2 separate regions of the Homo sapiens genome follow, and region 2 is linked to region 1. Evidence: promoter capture Hi-C in 16 types of primary human blood cells and fetal thymus (Javierre and others, 2016). All regions are on one chromosome and are shown on one strand. The core of a region is centred on a gene start or on the middle of the fragment in contact, and the rest is flanking DNA. Distances in the headings are between cores, read along the strand shown.

Evidence for each region. The method cuts DNA at HindIII sites, captures the fragments that hold promoters and counts their contacts. A CHiCAGO score of 5 or more calls a contact.
Region 2: a contact is called between a fragment that was not itself captured here and the fragment with the promoter of CD300LF in region 1, in 1 of 17 cell types (naive CD8 T cells). The highest score is 5.1, in naive CD8 T cells.

What each region holds. Positions count from the first base shown.
Region 1 is chr17:74,709,934-74,716,557 of GRCh38, forward strand. It overlaps CD300LF (CD300 molecule like family member f), which reads right to left and starts at 2,990. Exons shown (of 7, transcript NM_139018.5): 1 at 2,891-2,990. The coding sequence starts at 2,933. It also overlaps a transcript of RAB37 not described here. The HindIII fragment of the contact is 2,812 bases long and covers 2,856-5,667 here.
Region 2 is chr17:74,638,691-74,645,314 of GRCh38, forward strand. No RefSeq gene overlaps it. Among named protein-coding and RNA genes, the nearest start is that of CD300E, 18 kb to the left of the region's middle. The HindIII fragment of the contact is 7,428 bases long and covers 1-6,624 here.

The DNA.
Region 1 (6,624 bases), core at 1,740-4,239:
ATGAATTCCCAATATATATAATAACATGATTCTGGAAGTTCTTTTTTGTTTGTTTGTTTTTTTGAGATGGAGTCAGGCTCTGTCGCCCAGGCTGGAGTGCAGTGGCTCAATCTCGGCTCACTGCAAGTTCCGCCTCCCGGGTTCACGCCATTCTCCTGCCTCAGCCTCCTGAGTAGCTGGGACTACAGGCGCCCACCACCACGCCCAGCTAATTTTTTGTACTTTTGGTAGAGATGGGGTTTCACCGTAGCCAGGATGGTCTCGATCTCCTGACCTTGTGATCCGCCTGCCTTGGCCTCCCAAAGTGCTGGGATTACAGGCGTGAGCCACTGTGCCCAGCCTGGAAATTCTAATCAATATAGGAAGATAAGGAAAAACATAAAATGTATAATTATCAAAAGGGAAAAAAGTTAGAGAAAATTTTTTAATTTTAAATGAAAAAGTATTTTAATTCATAATTGAATTTAATAGAGTGGCTAAATAATAAACATGTAAAAATCAATGGCTTTCCTATAAACTGCTAATAAATAGTTGGAAAGTAAAGTAGAAAAGTGCTCATTTACATTAGCAATAAAAGTGTATTAAATTCCTAGGAATAACTTTAACAGAAACAATAAAGACTTATGGAAAAAAAGCACAGTGAGGCTGGGCGCGGTGGCTCACGCCTGTAATCCCAACACTTTGGGAGGCCAAGGCGGGTGGATCACTTGAGGTCAGGAGTTCGAGACCAGCCTAACCAACATGGTAAAACCCCATCTCTACTAAAAATACGAAAAAAAAAAAAAAATAGCCAGGCATGCTGGCACACCTGTAATCCCAGCTACTTGGGAGGCTGAGGCAGAAGAATCACTTGAATCTGGGAGGCAGAGGTTGCAGTGAGCCAAGATCGCGCCACTGCACTCCAGCCTGAGTGACAGAGCGAGACTCTGTCTCAAAAAAAAAAACAAAAAATCTGTTCTTGCCAGGCACGGTGGCTCATGCTTTTAATCCCAGCAACTCAGACGGCCAAGGCAGGAGGATCACTTGAGCCCAGGAGTTGAGGCTGCAGTGAGCTATGATCATGCCACCACACTCCAGCCTAGGCAACAGACTGAGACCCCAACTCAAAAAAAATAAAAAACCTTCCTTTCTCACAGAAAACAAACTTCCGGATGGGTATTTTTTTTCTTGGGTGTTTTAAAACGATAAATTATTTAGAAGAGGGAAACAGGGTAAGCACACTTGCTGCTTGTGGGTGGAAGTTCTGCAGGAGAGGCTGGCAAGAGCTGATGCATGCAGGTTCACAGTGGTATCCGGGCTCCATGTTGGCGCCCATAGCTGTGCCTGCTGGCTTTTCTGCCCACTTCAGACAGAGGTCCCAAACCACTCCCACTCCCAACACGACTCTCACATCTGCTCACTACCAAATTCTCTCATTTCCAGGTGTCAGAAAAAAAGCAGCCATACCTGTCCTGGTCTCACTGTGCCAATGCATTTCATAACATCTCACCCAAAGTCTGCCTTCTCCACTTACATGCTGAAACTCGGGGCCAAGTGTCCATGAGCCACTCCCTGCTCTTCCTGTACCAGCCTAGCAGTCCTGGACAAGTCACTTTCTTCCCCAAGACCTTTTCTCCAATCTGTCCCACCAGGATCTTCTGAAGCATGAGGCAAAGCCGTGCTGACCTCCCTCTTCCTCAGACGTGCCCAGTCCAAGCTCATTCCTACACAAGAGCCCTCGTATCTACTGTTCCCTGTGCCTGGAAAGCTGGTCCCGATCCTGTGTCTGATCCTTTTCCTAGGTCTCGGCTCGGACAGGCATCTGGGACCCTCTTCAGGGGGGTTGTTTCAGCCCACCTGACTTACAGCATCCCCCTACCTGGGTCCCACTGTAACATATCATCTTGTTCTGTTTTCCTCACAGTACTTATCACTTCTCACTTCTTGAAATTATTTTTTTGTTTTCTTTCTTTTTTTTTCTTTTTTCTTTTTTCTTTTTTTTTTTTTTTTGAAACAGAGTCTCGCTCTGTCACCCATGCTGGAAGGCAGTAGTGTGATTACAGGTCACTGCAGCCTCCAACTCCTGGGCTCAAGTGATCCTCATGCCTCAGCCTCCAGCCTCCCAAGTAGCTGGGACCATAGGCACATGCCACCATACCTGGCTAATTTTTGTACTTTTTGTAGAGACAGGGTTTCCACATGTTACCCAAGCTGGTCTCGAATCCCTGAGCTCAAGCAATCAGCCTCCCAAAGTGCTGGGATTACAGGAATGAGCCTCTTTCCCTGGCCTCCCTTCATTTTTAATAAAAATTGTATGCACCAACTTAAGGTGTCTCCTGCCCTCTGGCTCTGCCCACATCTCAGTCCCTCCTTTCCTCTACGTCCCTGCCAGTCTTATCTCCTCTTGACCTTTCCGTCCCTCAGCAACTTCTACTATTTCCTTCTGCCCCAAATGCCTAGAACCACCACTCCCTCTCTGCCCAGCAAACTCCCTCTTCCCTCCTTTCAAAGTCCTCCAGCCTCACCTCTTCCCTGACGCCTGCCCTTGCTCAGAACACCTCCACGCAGGTGACAGATCACCCAGTCCAGGATCAGGCAGTCGCCTGCTCTCCTGAGCAGCCCATGTTCCTCCTCTGCTTTTCCCTGGCCGGCGGGGCCTACAGTCTGTCCATTTCACATGATCAGCCCCTGGGGGTCAGGAATTCTGCCTTGCACTGGCTTCATTATGAAGGTCATGCCCTGTATTCCTGCCTTGGCAACGGAAATGCTAGGTGAATGGTGGGTATGTGGATGAAACGCACAAGGCTCATGCCATTAAGGACACCTTCTGGCCGGGTCCCTTCTTCCCTCTCTCAGCCACCTCCTCCTGCTTGCTAAGCTTCCCCAAGAAGACAGACCCAGGCCCGCTCACCTGAGAGCCAGAAGAGGAGCAGGTAGAGTGTCAGCAGGGGCATCTTCTCTTCAGACAGGTCCCCGTTCCCCTCAGTGGAGCCTGGCAGCAGGAACAAACTACAGACTCCCAGCCTTCTGCTGGTACTCACTCTCGCCCTTGAACTTCCTCCTTCAGTCACTTCCCATGGGTGAAAGAGACTAAAAGAGGAAGGAGGTGGTTGGTTGGGCACCGTGGCTCAGGCCTGTAATCCTGGCACTTTGGGAGGCCAAGGCGGGCGGATCACGAGATCAGGAGTTCAAGATCAGCCTGGCCAACATAGTGAAACCCCGTCTCTACTAGAAATACAAAAATTAGCCAGGCGTGGTGGCGCACACCTGTAGTCCCAGCTACTCAGGAGGCTGAGACAGAAGAATCGCTTGAACCTAGTAGGCGGAGGTTGTAGTGAGCCGAGATCGTGCCACTTGCACTCCAGCCTGGGTGACAGAACAAGACTCTGTCTCAAACAAAAACAAAAAAAAAAAAAAAAAGAGGAAGGAGGTGGAAAGGGTGAAATTTCGAGGCAGTTGACAATGCAAGGGGTCACAGGAATCATCAGCTTCTGAGAAGTACCTCTCTGTACACAGCCACCGTGGGTTCTCTAAAAAGAGAACTTCGTGGCTCCTCTGTCATGTGGAAACCTGCAGACAGATCCACTGGGTCTGGCCAGCCCTTATCCAATCCTCCAAACCTGGTGGGTTGGCTGGGGGCAGGGGCACGCGGCTCCACCAGAGGGGTCCTGGAGAGCCACGGCTGATAGACACGATGTCCTAAACCTGGAGCTTCAGGTGTAGCCAGATGCTTGGGAGCCCAGAAGGCCAGAAGTTCAAGAGGATTGAGGGGCACTTGTGGCCAAAGTCAGAAAGCCAGAGGAGAGATTCCAGACCAAAGGTTGGAAGGCAGCTATGAGGAGATTGGGTATCCAACCCCAGACTACAAGGCCAGGTACGGTGGCTCACACCTGTAATCTCAGCACTTTAGGAGGCTGAGGCAGGAAGATCACTTGAGGCCAGGAGTTCAAGACCAGCCTGGGCAACATGGCAAGGCTTCATCTCCACAAAAAAAAAAAAAAAAAAAAAAAAAAAAAGTCAGGCATGGTGGCTCATGCCTGTAATCCCAACACTTTGGGAGGCCAAGGTAGGCAGATCACTCCAGGTCAGGAGTTAGAGACCGGCCTGGCCAAAATGGTGAAACCCCATCTCTACTAAAAAATACAAAAATTAGCTGGGCGTGGTAGCATTCACCTGTAATCCCAGTGACTCGGGAGGCCGAGGTAGGAGAATCACTTGAACCCAGGCGGCAGAGGTTGCAGTGAACCCAGATCGCACCACTGAACTCCAACCTAGGCAACAGAGCAAGACTCTGTCTCAAAAATAATAACAATAATAATAATAATTAGTTCTGCAGAGTCATGCATGCCTGTAGTCCAAGCAATCTGGGAAGCTAAGGCCTGAGGATTACCTGAGCCCAAGAGGTCGAAACTGCAGTGAGCTATGATTGAGCCACTGTTCACTGTACTCCAGCCTGGGCAACAGAGCAGACGCTGTCTCTTTAAACACACACACACACACACACACACACACACACACACACGCACGCACAGAGAGGTTCAGAGAGAAGGGAGATGCAAGCAGGGAACTACTGGCCCACTGACAAGAGGCGCTTTGTCCTGAGAACACGAAGGAAGCTCCTACTGCTGTACCCCAGCCCACCAGGTGAGATCCCAGGGATACCTACATCTGGAATCTTCCAGAAACCTGTCCATTGTACCAGGGGGTCTACCTGAGGAAACCAGTTCATTGCTCAGGACTATTATCCCCTCGCTCCACCCCTCACCTTATAACTATTTGTTGAAGGAAGGAAGGAAGAAAGGAAGGACCAGTTTTGCCCCTCACTCTCCTCCTTCTGACAATCATGTCCATCCCCCATCTCTCCTTTCCCATCAAGACCCCAGCAAGTCCCTAGGGTCGGGACTGGGGATATAAAAGGATTAGGAAGGGCCAGACTCAGTGGCTCACACTTGTAATCCCAGCATTTTGGGAGGCCAAGGCAGGTGGATCACCTGAGGTCAGGAGTTCGAGATCAGCCTGGCCAACATGGCAAAACCCCGTCTCTACTAAAAATACAAAACTTAGCCGGGTGTGGTGGTGGGTGCTTATAATCCCAGCTACTCAGGAGGCTGAAGCAGGAGAATAACTTGAACACAGGAGGTGGAGATTGCAGTGAGCTGAGATCGCACCATTGCACTACAGCCTGGGCAACAAGAGTGAAACTCCATCTCAAAATAAATAAATAAATAAAAATAAATAAAAGGATTAGACCTTTCTCACCTTCTGCACCTGGAGCCACTTTTGCCATGTGTCACATACACCCTGTGACATCTTGACAAGGGAGTGAGTCTCAAAGAGGGACGCAACCCCCTCACACCCTAATCAGGAATGAGTGGGTGTGCAGAGGGTTATTTGCACAGAAAACCACAGCAGCTGATAAGCCATGGCTTTTCCAGGACGTGGCCAGAGATGGCTTCTCGCTTTACATATCTGCAGACCATAAAGTAGGTCAAGAATCCGGGGTGAGGGCTTGGCCAGCCCTTTGGTCCCTGCTGCATGTCAATAGGTCCTCTGCCCAGGGCACCATGCAGATACTCAGAGAGCAATCAGCCCTCTGCAGTAGGGAAGCCATTGGCTTCCAGGAAAAAGGACCAGGAATGGGGGCTGCCCTGAAAAACAAGGGGCAGATGCATCGAGGGTGGTGGGGTAAGCTTTCTTCTCCTGGGCATGAGCAACAAGGAGGGAACAGCACTGTCTGTTAGAACTGCCTGTGGCCAGACCCTCTGATCGTGGCCTCTCCCAGACCTGGCCTCCCCAAGAAGGATTCCCCTTTGAAACAAGAACAGAGAATTCAGGCCGGGCACGGTGGCTTACACCTGTGATCTCAACTCTTTGGGAGGCTGAGGCAGGCGGATCACCTGAGGTCAGGAGTTCAGGACCAGCCTGGCCAACATGTCGAAACCCCATCTCTACTAAAAAATACAAAAAATTAGCCGGGCATGGTGGTGGATGTCTGTAATTCTAGCTACTAAGGAGGCTGAGGCAAGAGAATTGCTTGAACCCGGGAGGCAGAGGTTGCAGTAAGCCGAGGTCACAACACTGCACTCCTCCAGCCTGGGTAACTGAGCAACACACTGTCTCAAAAAGAAAAAGCAGAGAATTCGCCAAGTGGTTCTGAGTAGCTGCTCCTCTAACCAAGTGCCTATGGGGAATACAGGGGAATCGGCTCTTCTGCAGGCCTTGCGTCCTCAAAAACTCATTTGAACCTGTAATCCTGGTTTGACCATTGACCTATACACAAGCCAGTTATATCCCTGGGCTTCCCTGTCCCCATATGTGAAAGCAGGGATTAGACAGGTCATCTGAGATTCTCCCTGCTCTAACGCACCTATGTATGTATGTATGTGTGTGTGTGCATGTATGTACGTGAATGGTTGAACCTGTCATTCTGCCCTGGCCTTGTGTGCTCTGCTAGGGGACTCTGTCTAGCACCTAAGAACCAGTCTCTGTTTTTATAAATCATAATTCTTCTCAGAAACCATTCCTGAGCCCTTTTAGTTCCCCTCACTTCCAATTGCACTTTATCTTTCCCAACCACTTGTGCTATGTTTCATATTTTCCATCATTATTACATTGAATCCTCACTATAAATCTAGAGGAAAGGTG
Region 2 (6,624 bases), core at 1,803-4,302, 71 kb before region 1:
TGGACAACCTTGGCTAAACAAACCTCTAATGCACTGAGACCTGCCTCAGTCATGTTTTGGTCTGTAACAGGGTATGTCAGGATCAATCAGAGCACATCTCAGGTTATAATGATAAACACTGAGATTTTATTTTTTTTTTCTGTATGCGTATACAAGTATTGCCAAGTAACTAACTTTCTCACTGTGAGTCATGGTCAAAAAATACTAAAAGTCACGACATGGGCCGAGTGAGGTGGCTCACGCCTGTAATCCCAGCACTTTGGGAGGCCAAGGCAGTTGGATCACCTGAAGTCAGGAGTTTGAGACCAGCCTGGCCAACATGGTGAAACCCCATCTCTACTAAAAATACAAAATTAGTAGGGCGTGGTAGCACGTGCCTGTAATCCCAGCTACTCGGAAGGCTGAGGCATAAGAGTCCTTAAACCCGGGAGGTGGAGGTTGCAGTGAGCCGAGAACACGCTACCATACTCCAGTCTGGGTGACAGACTGAGACGCCGACTTAAAAAAAAAATTCATGACATCAATTATGTGTGAGCATTTTACTTCAATCCAGAATAAAGAACAAGGGAACTCTCCCACCACCCTCTGTCTCTTGGTGCCCAGAAACTCCATCGAGCACGTTCTGGTCCAGAAAAAAAGAGGGGGCCCTGCAGTGGCCAACCCTATGTCTTGCTCCATTCAGCCTGCTGTAACTGAAATACTACAAAGTGGGCAGCTTAAGCAGTCATTTATTTCTTACAGTTATAGATGCTGGACATCCAAGATCAGGGTGTCAGCCTGGTCAGGCTCTGGCGAAGGCCTCTTCTGGGTTGCAGATGACTGCCTTCTCTTTCCATCTTCACATGGCAGAGAGGGAGGTCTACAAAGCTCTCTGGAGTCTCTTTTATGAGGGCACTCATCCCATTTATGAGGGCTCCAGTTTCAAGACCTAATCGCTTCCCAAACCCCCAATACCATCAGCTTCATGGTCAGGATTTCAACATATGAATCTTTGGTGGGGGAAGAAGGGGGACACAAACTTTCAGTCCATCATCCCTGGAACAGGCAGATAATGCCAGCATTTTCTTCATCAGTGTCATGGACTTGGCGTTATGCAAGAGCAGTGTCGATCAGGAACGGGAAACAAGAAGGTTTTTGTGGTTATGACCGAAACCATCTGCTCACATCAGCCCATTTGTGGCTTTTATTTCTTTTTTTAATACTCAATTTGAGCAGAGAGCAGGCTGAGAAAGGAGTGCTGGCATCAGGAGCTGGCAGCGTTAGAAGCACCTATGCAGAGGGACAAAAGCCCCAAAGTGAGCGACTGCTGGGCTTCGAGCCCCAGTGCCCCCCACCTCACCACGCCCATGACTCCTGCATCTTCCTCCGAGACCCACCCTGCACAGCTGACTCACTTGCCTTCGTCTGTGCAAATAACTTCCCCATGGGTCTCCTTTTTCATTTGCTTCTCTCCCCTTTATTTCAGGCTACTAAGGGATGCAACGTTGACGGTGCTAAGCAGAGCCTAGAATAGGAGAGAGGGCTCTCCAGAAAAGACCTGGAACATTAGAGATGAGCAATGCCACTGTTAGGAGCCCATGGGTCCCGCCCTAAGCCTCCGAGGCCTCTCCTTCACCTTCATATCCACACCAGACAGGGCTGGTGAGCGAATTCTGGAGGATTCAAGGCGAGAGAGAGTCCCCTGTGTTCTTAACTTCGGGGAGCTGAGGTCACAGATACACTTGAGATTGTAACAAAAGCTATACACCCATGCCCTAGGAAAACACACACATACACTGAGTTTCGCATATCCTATTAAAAGAATCTCCAGAGTCTTTCTATGTATTCCTAGCTAGGACCCCCCACCCTGGCAGGGCGCGGTGGCTCACACCTGTAATCCCAGCACTTTGGGAGGCCAAGGCGGGTGGATCACATGAGGCCAAGAGTTGGAGACCAGCCTGGTCAACATGGTGAAACCCTGTCTCTACTAAAAATACAAAAGTTAGCTGGGCATTGGTGGTGGGTACCTGTAATCCCAGCTACTTGGGAGGCTGAGGCAGGAGAATCCCTTGAACCCGAGAGGAGGAAGTTGCAGTGAGCCAAGATCGTGCCATTGCACTCCAGCCTGGGTGACAAGAGCAAAACTCCAACTCAAAAAAAAGAAAAAGAAAAAAGAAACAGATGAGAGAGATATGACTCTGATGCTAGAACAGAGGAGGAGCCTGCAGAAGGTGTGCAAGCACACATGTGCGCACGTGCACACACATACCAGCTGTCAGACACAGTCTGTGCTCTTTGGGAAGGAGGGTGGGGGTTACAGGACACTCCCATGTGACAAAACAGCAATCATCCCATGTCCCCTGGGTGCATAAAAACATCTCTCTTTGCACACCAGCACACAGCCACATCTTCCTTGCTGGGGTTCTTTGTGACCACTGTGAAAAAGCATTTGCCAGGGCTGTCTTGATGGTACACGGCGCTCCTCTCCTGACCTCAGGTGGTCCACCCACCTCAGCCTCCCAAAGCTCTGGGATTACAGGCGTGAGCCACCGCACCTGACCCAGACCCTGCATTCCTTTCCCCACTGGGCTTCTCTAATGTTCAGAACAACTCAAATCCATTTGTGCATTCTGCTGCCGCATATGGAGGCCCTGCTAAGTGTGAGTCCTACTTTGTGTTTGCAGCTGCAGACCTCATGCTGAGCAAGACTTCGCCTGGCCCTGGAGGGGCTCCCCACTACACCCTGGGTTGCCTCTGTGCCCTCTGGACTACCAGGCCTGGCTTAGTCGCTTTCCTTGGGCCTCTGTTTGTTATCAGCAGAGCCCACCCATCTGAGGCTGGAGCCTGAAACTCTAGTCATCCCTCTGATTCCCTCATCCTCTCCCCAGTGCACCCCAGCCCCACCCACCTCCCCTTCCCCAGCCACTAGGCCTGCTGTTCCTCATGCTCCCACCAGCCTCCCCCACCCCACTCCCCGGACCCAGGATGTCCAGGAGGGGCAGATGTGTCACTGTGTCTCTTTGCTCTCTCTGCCTCATCTGCCAACATTTGGGGAGCTTCTGTCAGCTGGACTGAAACTGGCTTTCATGTTTCTTACTACTCCCTTGCGTCTCTCTTTTCTACACCTCAGTTTTGTTGTTTTCCCATTGCATCAATGTTTATACGTAGAGCTGTTCAGAAAAAGCAGAAGCTGGAGACAGGAAAACTACTAATCACAACAGAAACTTTGTGGCTTTAATTCTCATAATAATTAGCATCACAGGGCACCCACCCAGTTTCTCAAGAGCCTACAACTTCCAAAAACAGACAAGTTAAGTCACATTTTTATGTATCATTGTGTCTTCAAATATACTAATCCAGCAGATTTATCTGACATCAAAACAGGGAGTTGGATGTTCAGAGGGCAAATCTTACCCAAAAATTGCTGACACAGCCCCTAACATGTTACATTATTATTAATTGGACAGTCACTTAATGAGCGTCTACTAAGTAAAGGCGCTGTGTATACAAAGAAGAAGGAGAGATCATGATTCTGTCAGGATCCTGGGAGTGGGCCAATGGCAGGCTCAGTTGGTATAACAGAATAATCTAATGCAGGGGAAATTTACAAAGAGAAGGAAAGAGTTAAGTGAAATCAACAAGAGATGGAGAAAAAACAGGACTAGCAACAGCAGTAGGGCCACGACACCTCTAACACAGGGAGAGGTGTCAGAAATAACCAGAACCCACAGGAACTGTAGGACAGGACCATGCCACAGGGGCTGTGACCTCAAAGTAGGAAAACGGACACTCCAGCCCAGCAGGGTGGCACCTGGGCAGGAGAAACTCTCACCTTCCTTTCTCCTGCTGGCACCACCCATTGCCATTCCTTGGAAAGAAAATAAATCTTGGGACCCCAAACTCACTAAGCCAAAGGAAAAAGTCAAGCAGGGAACTGGGTCATGCAAACCTACCTCCCATGTTGGTTCCTAAATGAGATGGTGACAAGGATGACAGGCTACCAACCTCCCTCACATTGTGGTCTTTAAAGCGTTTCTGTTAAATTTCCCCATGCCAATGTAAACTGATAGCTTATCTTCACAGGTGCGAGACACAGGACAGAACTCAAAGTCATTCCTCTGCCCACCTGAGACAAACGCATATCTGACTGTTTCCTCTGCCCTGTTGTTTACGTTATCTTAGGTAAAAATGCAGATTCACTGAGCCAGACAAAGGCCTGAATGGCTATTTTCCCCACCTCCCCTCTCACAAGAAAATTGTGTATTTCTCAATATCCCACCCTTTCCCTTTTAAATATTGAAGCCCCCAAAATCATCTTCAGAGAAAGGTATAGACCTGTCTCCCAGGCGCGTTTCCTTAACTTTGGCAAATAAACTTCCTAAAATGATTGAGACTTGCCTCAGTCATTTTCCTCCATTGACAACCTGAGCCCAACCAGAAGCCAGAGTGAGGTTATCTATGTTCCCCTCTCCAATAAGAATAGAAACCCCCACTCCAGAGCAGGTGCGGTGTCTGACTCATCTTCATATCCCAGCAGTAAGTACAGTGACCAGCTCACCGCGGGTGCTCAGTAAATGCATGCTGTGTGAAGAGATGAATGAGTGAATGTCCGTCCACTCAGCAACCTTGCAGCCAGGTGTGGTTGCTCATGTCTGTAATCCTAACATTTTGGGAGGCCAAGGCGAGTGGATCACTTGAGACCAGGAGTTTGAGACCAACCTGGCCAATATGGTGAAACCCTGTCTCTACTAAAAACCCAAAAATTAGCCAGGTGTGGTGGTGCGTGCCTGTAATCCCAGCTACTCAGGAGGCTTGAACCCAGGAGATGGAGGTTGCAGTGAGCCAAGATTGCGCCACTCTACTCCAACCTGGGTGACAGAGCAAGACTCTGTCTCCAAAAAAAAAGAAAAAGAAAGAAGAAAGAAAGAAAGAAAGAAAGAAAGAAAGAAAGAAAGAAAGAAAGAAGAAAGAAAGAAAGAAAGAAGAAAGAAAGAAAGAAAGATTCTTACAAACTATAAGATACTAAATTATCTAAAATTATTTCAAAATAAAGAAGGAGGTTTTGATGCTATATGCAGGTAAGAAAGGTTGGAATTAATCTCTGGAATAACACACATGATTTTCTCAATTCCTGTACTAAGCACATATGCATGGCTCCAGAAATAAGCAGAAAGTCTTTGCCATTTCAACTGTCCCCCACATACTTACTATGTTAACCCACTTCTCCATCAACACTTCTGCCCCAGGCAACTAGAAGAGAGAGAAGGAAGGTGGTGAAAAGCAGCTTCATGGTTCTGCCTACTGAGCTCTGCTCTCCCCTCTATACAGCCCAGTCCTCCTAGACTCTGGGCTGACCATGCTACAGAGAGCAAGTGCTGCATGCTCTGCCTTCTGCTTTGGTGCCTCCCTATCTCTTCTTATGGTGGTCTCCATTCACACCTGCAATCATTGTTTATTCTACTGCTTTTTTTTTTCTTTTAAGAAAGAAACTGAGATGATAAGCAGCAACTACTTGACAAGCAAGTGTTCAAACACAATGCTATGGCAATCTCCTCAACATGCTTGAAATATATGAAAAGATAGAAAATCTCAGCAAGGAAATAGACACAAAGAAGTAGCAAGTGGACATTTTACAAATGAAAAATATGATAACTAAATTTTTTAAATTCAGCTAATGGGCTCAACATCAGGAGGGAGAGGACAGAGGAAAGAATCGGTGAACTTGAACACAGAACAATAGAAATTGTCTGATCTGAGCAAAAGAGAGAAAATAGACTTTAAAAGATGAACAGAGCCTTAGGTAGCTGTGGGACTGTAATAAAAGAGCAAACATTCATGTCATTGAAGTTCCAGAAGAAGAAAAGAAAGAAAGCAGAGTTGCAAAAAGGTATTTGAAAACATAACGGCTAAAATTTTCCCAGTTTCAGCAAGACATAAAGCTACAGATCCCAAGATAACTATCCTCAAAGTCAGTCAGAGCCTGGGTCTAAAAACCATTTTGAGCAGATTCCTGGAAAACTCAATCTCCAGTCCAAACATTCTTCTAACCTCAGACCTCCTTGCCATCCCTCTCCTTGATATCTGCACTTGAGCCGTCTCAAAGATGCATCCAACTCAACAAGTCCAAAGTAAACTCACAATTATGCCCTCCAGAAAGGAGTCCCATCACCTTACACTGTTTCCTAGTTTTCATCCCTGACCCCTCTGTGTCTTCATCCCCACACTCTGTCCTGCCTGGAGCCCATTCAATGTTGCCTCCTGTTAAAGCTCTCAGATTTGTCCATCTCTCTATCTCCTTCTCTGCCAACCTAGCCCAAGCTACCATCGTCTGTCAATAGCCTCCCAGGTGGTCTGCCCACGTTCACTCTTAGTTTTTCGCCACTGTGCAGCCAGAATGGTATTTTTGCAAACAAATCTGATCTTGCCACTCCCCCTGTAAGAAACATTAACAGCCTCCCAGGGCTCTTACAACTCCTCTACTGGACCTCAGTTTGGCCCCTGCTGACCTCCCAAGCCTCAAGCCATAATAACCTCCCACTTAATCCCCAAGGGGCAACCACAAAGATTTTGGTTCCTCAGACAGAACACATTCCCTTGATTACAGTGACTGTTCACACACTGTTTCCTGGGCCTAAAATGCTCCTT